Regions from separate parts of the Homo sapiens genome. Here regions 1 and 3 are each linked to region 2. The links are contacts of gene promoters, found by promoter capture Hi-C in blood cells and fetal thymus (Javierre and others, 2016). All regions are on one chromosome and are shown on one strand. Each heading gives the region's core, a stretch centred on a gene start or on the middle of the fragment in contact. The rest is flanking DNA. Distances are from core to core; before and after follow the strand shown. Region 1 has its middle 31 kb from the start of CXCL8. Region 2 holds the start of PPBP (pro-platelet basic protein). Region 3 overlaps LOC105377277 (a long non-coding RNA gene).

The links. The method cuts DNA at HindIII sites, captures the fragments that hold promoters and counts their contacts. A CHiCAGO score of 5 or more calls a contact.
Region 1: a contact is called between a fragment that was not itself captured here and the fragment with the promoter of PPBP in region 2, in 1 of 17 cell types (neutrophils). The highest score is 6.1, in neutrophils.
Region 3: a fragment that was not itself captured here is called in contact with the fragment with the promoter of PPBP in region 2 in 1 of 17 cell types (megakaryocytes); the score reaches 12.0 in megakaryocytes.

Annotation. Positions count from the first base shown.
Region 1 is chr4:73,769,609-73,774,005 of GRCh38, forward strand. No RefSeq gene overlaps it. Among named protein-coding and RNA genes, the nearest start is that of CXCL8, 31 kb to the left of the region's middle. The HindIII fragment of the contact is 2,775 bases long and covers 1-2,644 here.
Region 2 is chr4:73,985,618-73,990,247 of GRCh38, forward strand. PPBP (pro-platelet basic protein) reads right to left here and starts at 2,573. Exons shown (of 3, transcript NM_002704.3): 1 at 2,339-2,573; 2 at 1,900-2,035; 3 at 822-1,757. The coding sequence starts at 2,486. The coding sequence ends at 1,655. RefSeq lists an enhancer at 1-252. The HindIII fragment of the contact is 3,234 bases long and covers 771-4,004 here.
Region 3 is chr4:74,130,856-74,135,704 of GRCh38, forward strand. All of the region lies in intron 1 of LOC105377277 (a long non-coding RNA gene), which reads right to left. It also overlaps a transcript of MTHFD2L not described here. Among named protein-coding and RNA genes, the nearest start is that of MTHFD2L, 25 kb to the right of the region's middle. The HindIII fragment of the contact is 511 bases long and covers 2,029-2,539 here.

The sequences.
Region 1 (4,397 bases), core at 7-2,506, 220 kb before region 2:
CTAATCCTAAAGGATAAATTTATTACTCAGGCAGCCCCTGAGATCAGGAGGAAGCTGCAGAAACAGGCCCTGGGACCAGATAGTACTTTAGAGAACCTCCTGAAAGCAGCCACCTGTCTTTTACAATAGGTCACTGGAATAGATTCTTGAATTTATTACACCCATGTAAATGCCTGGGAAGCTGATGAACCCAAAGAGTACCCAAAGTACCAATATGAAGAGGTTGGGGACCTCAAGCTAAAAATTACAAAAGATAAGTGTTAAACTTCCATGGATATCCTCTTTATAGTCTTGCCTATGTTCGCTGTTTTTACCTTTATTCTGTTCTATACTGCAGGATACAATATTGTGTCTAGAAGGAATAGTATATTTTACTTCTTATTTCTGTAAACTTTGTCACCAGATTATCTCCTTTTAACCCCGTTTTGTATAATACATATATTTGATCCATGCAAACTTATCCCTGTAAAACTTGTTTCTTCTCACCTAAAGGCGATCAAATTCCAAAGGGTCATGTAACTGGAGCCTCGGACAATGGCTCCCTTTTACCAGAGGCCCTTAGGTAAACCTCTGAGGGAAATCTGACCACTGTTTTCTTCAAAACAGTGTCCCCAGTAAGCAGAAAGTAGCTAAGATCGGTCATTGTCTGTATTCTAATGGCAGTGAGATGTTCCGCTTTGAAAAGGGAAATGATGGGGAAAGGAGGCAGAGAAATTCTAGGTAAAAAAGGGCAGGTCCCTGGTGAAGCCCTATCCTCAAGCTGAAAAGCCCGAGACCATGGCCAAAGTGAGAACTGTTTTCCCATGCGAACTTTGCCTTTTCCTAAGTCACCCATGACCCTGCCCCACCCCATCCTGTGCCTATAATGACTCCAGACTCAGCCAGCAGAGGGAAGAAGCAGCTGGACCTTGGGGACTACAGCTAGACATTGGAGAGAAGTGGCTTGACTTCAGAGGGATGGCTTGACCACGTAACTTTGGAGAAGAATCCTGCTGAACATGGCTGGACTTCAGGGGAAGATTACTTCCCCTTTTCAGCTCTCTTTCCCACTGAGAGCCACTTTCATTGGCAATAAAATCTCCCACATTTACCATCCTTTAAATCATTCATGCGACATCATTTTCCGTGGACACCTGACAACAGCTTGGGAGCCACAAGTGTGAATACAAAAGGCTTCATACTGGCCCTTTTCCCTCGCTGGCAGAAGGCAGCCACCTCACATGAAAAGAAAGAAGTCCCACTGAACTATTAACATTTTAGCTGTCTGTGGATGGGAGAGCTAAAAGAATACTGTAACATGTCCTCTGGGACTTCAGGGGTCACAGGCACCATCCCATTGATGCTGCTGCAAAGCCCACATGGAGTTTGCTCCTGCCAGTGCCTAAATGTGCTTGCCCTGGCTCCTGCACTCGCTCACCTGTGCACTCCCTCCTGAAAGGGGTGGAACACAGCAGGTGCAAGTGAGTGGAGTTTGCTCCTGCTGGCACCAAAGCAGCCAGCTGGTTCCAGGGCTCATGCAATCCAGTTCCTGCCTCATTTGATAGCGTGCTCCCTCCCACAAGAGTTGAAAGCTGCTGACTGAGTAAATGAGGCACCTCTGTTGTGAGTCCTGTGAAAGGGTCAGGGAAATATTCTTCTTCACTACCAAAAGACATGCTTTCATGAGTAGGCTGACAGAACTATTAGGGAGGATAGTTTTATTTCTTCATGCGTTTTCTGGGAATCCTTGCTACTTGTGGCATATACATGAGATGGTTTCTCTGTGTCCTTGCATTGGCCATCTCCACCTTAGTGAAGCCAGGTCTGCACCGTTCCTTATTATGATTTCTTTTTCTTCCCTTTTTGACACAGTAAGATCACCTGGATGTTGCTCAAAATGATGGCATGTAATAATTTTTAAACATTTGGAGATCAGATGAGATTGGGTGTGTTCAGGATGTATGGCCATAGAGAAGACAAGATATATAATAAATATTATATATTGTATCTTAGATATATGTATCAACTATGTTGATCTATTATCTATCATCTATCTTTCAAGAATAGAAAATTTATCTTGAACCCACTCCTCTCAAAAAAGAAGTGTGTCAATAAATGTTCAGAAACAATGGTGAGCATGTACCATTTTGTTGATAAAATATGTTTTATCTAATTCAGTAGTGCAAGCTATTATTGTCTCTACCACCTCACATGTCCACATGATAAGAAGCAGTCTGAATAGCTGATGTTAATGTGCCTCAAATTAATTCATGCATTCTTCTTAGGGACTCCTGGTGAGAGTAAAGAAGTGCTATTTATTGAACACCAACAGTGAACACTGTGCTAAGTGCTGTATTACAAGGGTGTAGGATCATTGTTGTCCATGCTCTTACAGGATAAATAAAAATAAAGCAGTATGGCAGGAACACAGAGAGGAGAGCTCTGACCTTTGACTCAGGAGCCTTCACTGGTTCCACACACATCACTTAGTGAATAATAATTAAGGTATCTTGAGTGACTCTTCATGAAACAGTTGTAAAACACTGTGTTTCTTAAAACTTTCCCCCACTGACTTATGTATTTATTGCTAATTTGTCAAAATCGTCTTCCACTTTGGAAATATAAATAGTTAGTACAACTTTACTAATTTATGCTATTTTTAGAAAGCTTCGAAATAGCACCAATTTACTACAAGGACTATGCTGGGGGCTAAACTTTTCCCCTATTCCTAAATTCATATGTTAAAGTCTTCAACCCGAGTGCCTCAGAATGAATCTCAGACAATATCGCAAATTTTATGATCCTCTAAAAATATTCCACTTGAATTTTCTATGCAGGCTTTAAAAAATTATTGTTATATCACTGTGAATTGTCTATACTTTGTTAATTTGGATAGATTTTCTGAGTTCCTGAATTTATTTTTGTGACTTTGTACTAATATAGTCACAAAGCAATATATCACAAGCATTTATGTGGAGATATTTTGAGAACTTGAAAGAAGTTTCAGTTCCCTAACATCCAGGAATAAACAATAATTAAGTAATTTTAATGTGTCTGGGTCATTGGGGTTGTAGAAAGAATATAGAAAAAGTTAAGAATGCATTAAAGATTGTCTATATTTTCTCTTTTCACTTGGAATAAACCTAACTAAATGCTAAATATATTTTAAGTAGATACGTCTTTCTGGATAATTCATGTTGTATTAAGGATTATTATATATACCCAGTAAATTTAATTCCTAATATCCTGGGCCCCCAAACATACAGGAAATAAAGATATATAACCTCCCTAAGTGTGTGTTATCTATGTATTTTTATCTACTTATAAAAATTCTTGCTTCATTATGACAATAGTAAAATAATGTATTGTAGGCATTTGTTTTTTTTAAATTTTGATTTTAAAATAATATTAGATTTAAAGAAGAGTTGTAAAAATTGTACAGACTTCACTTATACACATTTCACTTAACGTCTAATGTTAACATCTTTTATAATCATGGTATATTTATCAAAACTAATATCATATCATCTCTCTTTCTGTCTATCTTCTTTTTTTTTTAGGAAACAGGGTCTCTCTCGTTGCTCAGGCTGGAGTGCAGTGGCATGATTCTGTTCACTGCAGCCTCAAACTCCTCGGCTGAAACAATCCTCCTGCCTGAGGGATGATAAGACTACAAGTGCACACTACCATGCCTGGCTAATTTTTTATTTTTTGTGTGAAATAGAGTCTCATTATGTTGCGTAGGCTTGTCTTGAACCCCTGGCCCTCAAGCAATTCTCCCACCTGAGCCTCCCAAAGCACTGGGATTACAGGTGTGGGCCACCATGCCTGGCTTATTTCTCATTCCTTAGTCTATTGTGACCTTGACACTTTTGATGAGCATTGGTCAGGTATTTTCTAGAACGTCTCTCAATTTGGGTTTGTCTGACCCCCCAGTTACGGATTTTAGGAAAAATTATCACAGAGGTAAAGTGCCCTTCTGTAGGGGCCAGCCCCACAGGGTCTGTGAGTCTCTCCCCATGTGCAGCGACGAGAGAGTGTAGAAATAAAGACACAAGACAAAGAGATAAAAGAAAAGGCAGCTGGGCCCGGGGGACCACTACCACCAATGCGCGGAGACCGGTAGTGGCCCCGAATGTCTGGCTGTGCTGTTATTTATTGGATACAAGGCAAAAGGGGCAGGGTAAAGAGTGTGAGTCACCTCCAATGATAGGTAAGGTCACGTGGGTCACGTGTCCACTGGACAGGGGGCCCTTCCCTGCCTGGCAGCCGAGGCAGAGAGAGAGAGAGGAGACAAAGAGAAAGACAGCTTACGCCATTATTTCTGCATATCAGAGACTTTTAGTACTTTCACTAATTGACTCCTGCTATCTAGAAGGCAGAGCCAGGTGTACAGGATGGAACATGAAGGCGGACTA
Region 2 (4,630 bases), core at 1,323-3,822:
CCATGTCTCAGGAGCTGGTCTTGTCAAGTTTCAGTGGGAAACCACTAAACATAATGAGTGAGATGCCTGATACCCTATAATTATTATAGTATATACAGTATGCTATTTATGTATCAAGTTGTATTACATGTGTGAATAATACTATGTTATATGTAATGTAATCTCTTCATTAGAGAAAGAAGAGTTGAGGAAAGCACTGTGGTGTGGTGGTTAAGAGCACAATTTGAAATTCCCACTCTGTTACCTACTTAGTTATCTGAAAGTGGGCAAGTATTTTAAACTCTATAAACTTGATTTTTCTCTTCTGTAACACTGGGGAGGATAATAATAATCATAAGAAATAATTACTAACATTTATGTGTGGCTTATTTATGACACACATTATTTTAAATACCTTAAATTTATTAACTTTTTTAATCCTTCCATAAACTCTATGAGGGAGGCAATATTATCCCCATTTTAGGGATGAAGAACCTAAGGTACAGAGAAATTAAGCAACATGACCTGATATACACAGCTAACAAGTGGCAGAGCCAGGTTACCTCATTATTCAAACTCCAGAGGATGTTCTTTTAACCAGATCATATCTATCTTTTAAAAAATTGTTTAGTTCATGCATGGAAAACACTTAGTATTCCTGGCATATTAAAATGATTAATAAATTGGAACTGTTATCATACTACATTAAGAATGACACCGATCATCAATTTAGTAACTTTTGTTGTTCAAACTGTGAAATACCAAGTATACAAAAAAGAGAGGAAAATTAAAGCTTTTTTTCCCCAACAATCCTGTTAAAATTAATAATAGATGACAACAAGTCAATAGCAAATTTTTATTTCATGTGAATATTTTTGTAAGAATAGTGTGGGTATAAGTTTTAGGGTTTAAAAAATGAATGAAAGTTCTGTTGATGAAAAAAGTAGAATTTAGAATTAGGAGTCTAGTAAGGTTGAAGTCCTATATTGTACTTATTTATAAGGCTCATTCTAATGATAGAATTATAACTATGTAGATATGTTAATTCATTTTCATCATCTATTTTTGTTCTACTAGTGGCAAATATATTCACTTTAAACCAGCTAACCACAGTTTATAAGATTCATATTCACCAATTTATTATTTTAGTGTTTGATGGCTAAAATAAACATCAGAATAAACTTTCAGGGAGTATTTTAAATAAGACATCCTAGGACTAAGACACTGAGAGACTCCATTAAGTTCCTAAATATATTAACAAAAATGTATTGAGCAAATATTCTCTGTTGGGCTCCATGTAATTCCTATTATCATTGACCATTATGAAATCTAATAATACCCATGAGTATGTCTAATAACCATAAAGTAGACCAGGAAAAATCAACCAAGTTGTGTTAGAATAGAAATTTTTAAAGAAAAAAATGCAAAGTACAGTCCAATGTTTAGGCAAGAATTAGAGGGTTGAAACCAGGCTTATTTATTTTCATCTTCTTTCTGCCATCTTTTAACCAACCTTCTCAGAATAAAATGTGATTTTTGAGACAGAATGAAACACATATCCAAATTTTAATACAGTAAGAATAGGTATCCTGAATAAATGAGAACTCTAGAAAATCAAGGTTTCAAAATTCTACCCTTCCTGGGAGTTAAAGAAGTTTGGCAGAAACAGAACAAATTAATCAGCAGATTCATCACCTGCCAATTTTTTCTGTACAATTTTCTTGATTCTGGGAGCATCTGGGTCCAGGCAGATTTTCCTCCCATCCTTCAGTGTGGCTCTGCAAAAGAGAACAGGGTTATCTGTGGGTGTCCTGATCTGAATATCAGAACTAATCCATGAGACTGGAGGAAACGAGTGCATATGTGGATGGAGGTAGAGGGTTTCTCTGATAAGGCAATAGCACAGAAACAGCAACTTACATCACTTCGACTTGGTTGCAATGGGTTCCTTTCCCGATCACTTCCAAACTTTGGATGTTTTTGGGATGAATTCCAGAGGTTGTCTTTATACACATGCAGCGGAGTTCAGCATACAAGTCACTGTCTAGACTTTCCTCTAGGGTAGAAAATGTGACCTATTGGTGGTCATGAATATTTTCCTCAGGTCTCTTATTTGCAGATTGAGGGCAATTGTACCTCTCTCATAAAGCCATTGTGAATATGATCTGTAACGCTTTAGTAAAGTGCCCAGAAGATTGCCCAGCACACAAGAAGTGAGAAGTGACCCCCCTGTGTGTCTCCTCCAATTGGAGTTATTGGTATAATGGCCCTCTCCAGCCCCAAAGGCACCAAGCTAGTCTTTACCCCAGAGACAGGTGTAGCAGAAGCAGCAACAAGTGCAGAGAAGCAGGGCCTCTACCTTTGCCTTTCGCCAAGTTTCTCTTAGTTTGTCCTTTGGTGGAGGAAGCCAGAGCAGTCAGCAGCAATGACAGAAGCAGCAGCACCTGCAAGGCATGAAGTGGTCTCGCACTGTTACAGGAAGGGGTGGTATCAAGTCTGAGGCTCATGGTGGAGAAGGCTGAGCTAGAGTTGTTTCCAGAACCAGAAGACCTCTGAGTGAGGGTGAGTTGCTGCCTACAAGTCTGCAGATAAGTGGCTTCTCATGCCCTGAAGATGTCATTTATATGCTCTTTCTCAAAGCCAGTAAGAAGGAAGAGGTAGGAAAGGAGGAAGTGAGGGTATGTGGTGATACACACATAAGCATTTGAAGCTGTGCCCAACCCAGAGAAAGACCAGACAGGTCAAATTCCTACTAACTTGCTTAATGTGCATCACTTCACATTCCCACTCTCCCTTTCTCAATACTTATCTTCCTTACACCTGTGTAAGAACTCCGTTCAGGAAGGTAAGAACTAGACTGAAATACTACATGCATTTTCTTTGTATGATTTATAACAATACGCCCTGCCTTTTCTATACTGCAGTTTTTAGGCTTAATAGAAACTTTAGGAGCACCTGAAGGCACAAACATGTGGCCCTTGAAAGAGAAAGTTATCTTTGCTTGCCAAAGAAAGCAAATGTTCTTTTCATGAATGTTGATAAATATTGGGATTGGTTTGGAGCATGTAAGTAAAATAAGAGCCAATTACCGTCAAAGGTTGTCTTTGGATTTTAGCTTATTGGATTCTTTCTGCCTTCAATCTATATTATCTTTTGTAATTTCATCTAGAAACTACAAATGAAACTCATCCTCCTTTATATTACAAAAGAAGCTACTTGTTTCTACCACCTAAGAATACCTAAAAAGTAGGACCCAGCATATTTATTTTTCTTTTTATTTTTAATTTAACAGAAAAATTATATAATTTATTGCAAAAGATTCGTATGCTGCAGATGTCTTTGAAATAAAACACAAATTTCTCTTCATCATTTCTCCACATTCCTACTATTCAGTGGTAAACACTGGTAACAATTTTGCATTAGTTTTCAATTCTGTCTGCACTTATATGCACACATGTATATGTATACAATGAGACACGTTTAAGACATAGAGGTACACATATACATAGAAGTATTGTATATGGATCACTATACAGCTGACTTTTATCCTTCAAAAAATATGTGTTCCTTATCTTTTCAGGTCATCTTAATGTAGTTTTCCCCCATTCTTCTTAATGACCATGTGACGTCCTGTGATAAGAACAATAGTTACTCAACCTTGCCTTGTTGGTGCCCTTCACGGTGTTTCCAATTTTGCACTATTAGAAATTGTGCAAGAAATGTCCTTACCAAGGAAAATATTTGTTCCTGAATTCTCAGACCCAAATTAAAGGTTTTGGTCTGAAATGCTATATCCCTACAAAGATAGAGAGGTGGACCTACACATTACATGTTGGCTTTATGTTATTTTCTGGTTCTCTGTCCCATCTGTAAGACTTCCTTCCTCAATTGAACCATGCACTTTTGTAGGGAGTGGCATGTCCTGTGTTTGTTTGAATGTCTCATGTATCCTATAACATGTAGGATACTTCAATATAAAGTAGGTCTTAAATAATTAATAAATCAATGAATACGTATCACATGAAAGCTTCCCTATCCTTTCTAATCACCTACAATTCCAGGCCAAACTCGACAGGACCCAAAGCAACTATGCTATTTAAATTTATTTGGAAGATTGTCAATAAAGAAGAGGCAGATGTAAGTGGCACTGGCAACAAGTTTTCTTCCTTTTACAACTATGTATAAGTCTCACAGAATATTATTTAAATTTTCCATATTCTTTTCTTACTTTTCATATCCTTAAATTTTAGAAGAAATGCTTAAAATACTAAATGTTCAAAATTACTCTCTATCAAAAAGATGAATATAGTAATTTTTTAAATCATGTTTTTGTTTTCAAGCCAATTTTCCCTATTGTTTAATAGTTATCTACTATGTCTACTCAAGTTCTCAGGTCCTGTTTTTAAATGCGATAACCTACAGACCACATTTGACAGTTTACTTTAGAAGTAAGCAGACTTCCAAATTAACTCGCCCTGGAAAGGTTTCGTGACTTGATGGTGACATTCTATCTCTGAGTAAAGTATTTTATTACGAGTTCCTCAAATGATTGATGTACTAATTACTGTAGAACCTACTGACACTAAATAGGACAATGATTTATTTCTAAGTTTAGCTGAAACAAAAAGTTTTATTGATTGTTTTGTATGTA
Region 3 (4,849 bases), core at 1,034-3,533, 140 kb after region 2:
ATCTCCTTAAGCTTTATCAGCAACTTCAGCAAAGTCTCAGGATACAAAATCAATGTGCGAAAATCACAAGCATTCCTATACACCAATAATAGACAAACAGAGAACTAAATCCTGAGTGAACTCCCATTCACAATTGCTACAAAAAGAATAAAATACCTAGGAATACAACTTACAAGGGATGTGAAGGACCCTTCAAGAAGAACTACAAACCGCTGCTCAAGGAAATGAGAGGACACAAACAAATGGAAAAACATTCTATGCTCATTGATAGGAAGAATCAATATTGTGAAAAAGGCCATACTGCCCAAAGTAATTTATAGATTCAATGCTATCCCATCAAGCTACCATTGACTTTCTTCACAGAATTAGAAAAAGCTACTTTAAATTTCATGTGGAAACAAAAAAGAGCCCATATAGCCCAGACAATCCTAAACAAACAGAAAAATGCTGCAAGCATCATGCTACCTGACTTCAAACTATATTACAAGTCCACAGTAATCAAAACAGCATGGTACTGGTAACAAAATAGATATACAGACCAATGGAACAGAACATAGGCCTCAGAAATAACACCACTCATCTACAACCATCTGATCTTTGACAAACGATAAAAATAAGCAATAGGGAAAGGATTCCTTATTTAATAAGTGGTGTTAGGAAAACTGGCTAGCCATATGCAGAAAACTGAAACTGGACCCCTTCCTCACACCTTAAACAAAAATTAACTCAAGATGGATTAAATACTTAAACATAAGGCCTAAAGCTATAAATGCCCAAGAAGAAAACCTAGGCAGTACCATTCAGGACACAGGCATGGGCAAAGTCTTCATGACTAAAACACCAAAAGCAATGGCAGCAAAAGCCAAAATTGACAAATGGGATCTAATTAACCTAAGGAGCTTCTGCACAGCAAAAGAAACTATCATCAGAGTGAACAGGCAACCTATAGAATGAGAGAAAAATTTTGCAATCTATCCATCTGACAAAGGGCTAATATCCAGGATCTACAAAGAACTTAAACAAATTTACAAGAAAAACAAACAAACATGCCCATCAAAAAGTGGGTGAAGGATGTGAACAGACACTTCTTAAAAGAAGACATTTATGCGGCCAAAAAAACATATATAAAAAGAAAGCTCATTATCACTGGTCATTAGAGAAATGCAAATCAAAACCACAATGAGATACCATCTCACACTAGTTAGAATGGCAATCATTAAAAAGTCAGGAAACAACAGATACTGAAGAGGAAGTGGAGAAATAGGGATGCTTTTATATTGTTGGTGGGAGAATAAATTAGTTCAGCCATTATGGAAGACAATGTAGCGATTCCTCAAGGATCTAGAACCAGAAATACCATTTGACCAGCAATCTCATTACTGGATATATACCCAAAGGATTATAAATCATTCTACTATAATCACACATGCACAGGTATGTTTCTTGCAGCACTATAGCAATAGCAAAGATGTCAAACCAACCCAAATACCCATCAATGATAGATTGGATAAAGAAAATGTGGCACATATACACCATGGAATACTATGCAGCCATAAAAAAGGATGAGTTCACATCCTTTGCAGAGACATGGGTGAAGCTAGAAACCATCATTCTCAGCAAACTAACACAAGAACAGAAAACCAAACACCACATGTTCTCACTCATAAGTGGGAGTTGAACAATGAGAACACATGGACACAGGGAGGGGAACATCACACACCAGGGCCTGTCAGAGGGTGGGGCGCTAAGGGAGGGACACCATTAGGAGAAGTACCTAATGTAGATGACGGGTTGATGGGTGCAGCAAACCACCATAGCACATGTATACCTATGTAACAAACCTGCACATTCTGCACATGTATCTCAGAACTTAAAGTATAATAATAATGAAAAAAATGCTCTACACTTTAACTCCACACCTCCCACAAACACTTTGAATTTTTATTATATCAGTTCGCATATTTTAAAAATATCTATTTTGAACAGGTTGTTGTCGCTATTATTGTTTTTGATAGATTTGTCTTTATAAGCTTCTTACTAGAGTTATGATTGGATTGCACACCACAATTAAATTATTAGCATATTCTGGGGTTGTGTTCATACTTAATTTTACCAGTGGGTTTTATACCTTGAAATATTTTCTTTTAGTTAGTACACTAATATGTTAGCATTTTTTAATTTCAGGTTGAAGAATTCCCTTTAGCATTTCTTGCAAGACGGGTCTAGTAGTGGTGAATTCTCTTAGCTTTTGTCTGTGAAAGACAATTTCTCTTTGTTAATGCTGCCCTATTTCCTTCTGGCCTACATGGTTTCCATTGTGAAGTCTGTTGCCAGATGAACTGGAGTTGCTTTGTTATTTTACTCTTTTGCTGCTTTCTGGATCTTCTCTTTGTCTTTGATATTTGAAAGTTCAATTATTATATGCCTTGGTTAGTGTTACTTGGGTTGAATCTGTTTGGTGTTCCCTGACCTTTCTATATCTAGATATTTCTGTCTTTCATGAGTTTTGGAAAGTGCTCTGTTATTATTTCTTAGGATAAGCTTTTCTCCCCTTGCTCTTGCTCAGCTCCCCCTTAAACACCAATAATTTTTAGATTTGGTCTTTTGAGGTAATTTTCTATATTTTAAAGGTGGCCTTCATTTCTTTTTATTGTTTTTTTCTTTTCTTTCTTTGGACTGTATTTTCTTAATAGCCAGTCTTTGAGCTCACTGATTCTTTTCTCTAACCCATTCTGTTATTGAGATCCTCTAAAGAGTGTTTCAATTCAGCAAATGTGGTTCTCCGTTCCAAGATTTCTGTTTCATTTTTAAATTATTATTTCAATTTTCTTGTTAAATTTCTCTGATAAGTATCTGAATTGTTTTTCTATGTTATCTTGTAGGTCACTGAGTTTCCTTAAAATTGCTATTTTGAATTCTTAGTTATAAAGTTCACATATCGGTTTTCTAATCCCAAAATGGCAGCATAGAAGCAAGCTTGCTTCTCTCCCCTCCACCAGAAACCAAAAAGAAATACACAGCAGCAAGATCTTCACCAGCAGCAACCCAGAGATCCTGTATGAGGATGAGACAGTTCCTGTAGGTACAGAGAAGTGGAAACATTCTGAGCAGATGGTAGGAGAACCAGATTCTACATCCATGAGGCCTCTTCCCTGCATTACACCAGGCATCAGCAGTATGAAAAATCTGCCCTCAACTCATGGTTTCTGCACTGAAAAACGTGAAATTGAGATTGTCAACCAGCTTTCCCATCTTCTTCGGTTTCCTGCCAGGAGACCTGCCTTTGCCTTAAACCACAGGTAGCACTGTGACTGCCTGGAGGGAGAAATGTCTGTGAAGGCTGGCAAAGACAAATAGGGAAGCCAGGACTACCATCCTCAGCCGTAAAAACTCCTTGTAACTTGACCAAAGGAGATGCCAAATCAGTAGAAATCATGTAGCAAGTATGTTCCACAAGTCCCCTGGGAACACACCCGTGGCCGGCCTTCCCACAGTGCTAGGGTAATCCCTTTGGTCCTCCTCCTTATGGGACAGGCAGTGCCATGGCCATTTGCAAAAGTCAAGGTAAACATAGGCTTATGGCGCCATCTAGAGCCGAAAACAAGGCAGCAAGCTGGCAGTTAAGATTCATAAGCAACTGTATTCAATAAAAACCAAACCAAACTAGACAGATAAAGCTGGACTAAATAATTATTAATACAAATACATAGATGTATACCCACAAGAAACAACAGCAAACATGGAACCATAACCTTCTAGACAAAGCAAAGTTCCAGCGACTGACCCTCCTGAGATGGCGATTTGTGAACTCTCTGACCAAGAATTCAAAACAGCTGTTTTAAGGAAACTTTGTTATCTCTAAGATAACACAGAAAAGCAACTCAGATATTTATCAGAGAAATTTAACAAGGAAATTGAAATAATGATAAGCAGAAATCTTGTAACTAAGAACTACATTTGCTGAACTAAGAAACTCTTCAGGGGATCTCAACCACAGAATAGGTCAAGCAGAGAAGAGAATCAATGAGCTCAAAGACTGGCTGTTAAAAAATAAACAGAGGAGAGAAAAGAAAAAAAGAATGAAAATGAGAGAAGGCCACTTACAAGATATAGAAAATTACCTCAAAGACAAAATCTAAAAATTATTGATGTTCAAGAGAGAGCAGAGCAGGAGCAAGGGTAGAAAGCTTATTCAAAGAAATAATAAGAGAATACTTTCCAAAACATGAGAAAGATATAAATATTCAGGTACAGGAAGGCCTTAGAGCATCACATTAGTCAAATAAGACTAATGAAGGTATTTACTAATCAAACTGTCAAAGATCAAGCATAAAGATAAAACTGTAATGGCAGCAAGAGAAAAGAAGCAAGCAGCATATAAAGGAGCTCCAAATCATCTTTAGCCAGAATAAGAAAAAAAGAGAGAAGACCCAAATAAATAAAAGTAGGAACAAAAATGGACACATGACAACTGAGACCTCAGAAATACTAAGAATCATTAGAAACAATTAGGAACCATTACATGCCAACAAATTGGAAAATATAGAAGAAATGGATAAATTCCTGGACACATGCAACCTACCAATATTGAACCATCAACAAATAGAAAACCTCAATAAGCCAATAATGAGTTATGAAATCAAAGCCATAATAAAAAGTCTCCCATCAAAGAAAAGCTCACGGCCTGATAACTTCACTGCTAAGTTCTACCAAACATTTAAAGAACTAATACCAATTCTATTCAAATACTTCAAAACGATTAAAGAGGAGAGAGGGAATACTTTCAAACTCATTCTACAAGGCCAGTGTTACTGTGATACCAAAACCAGACAAGGACACATTTTTTTTT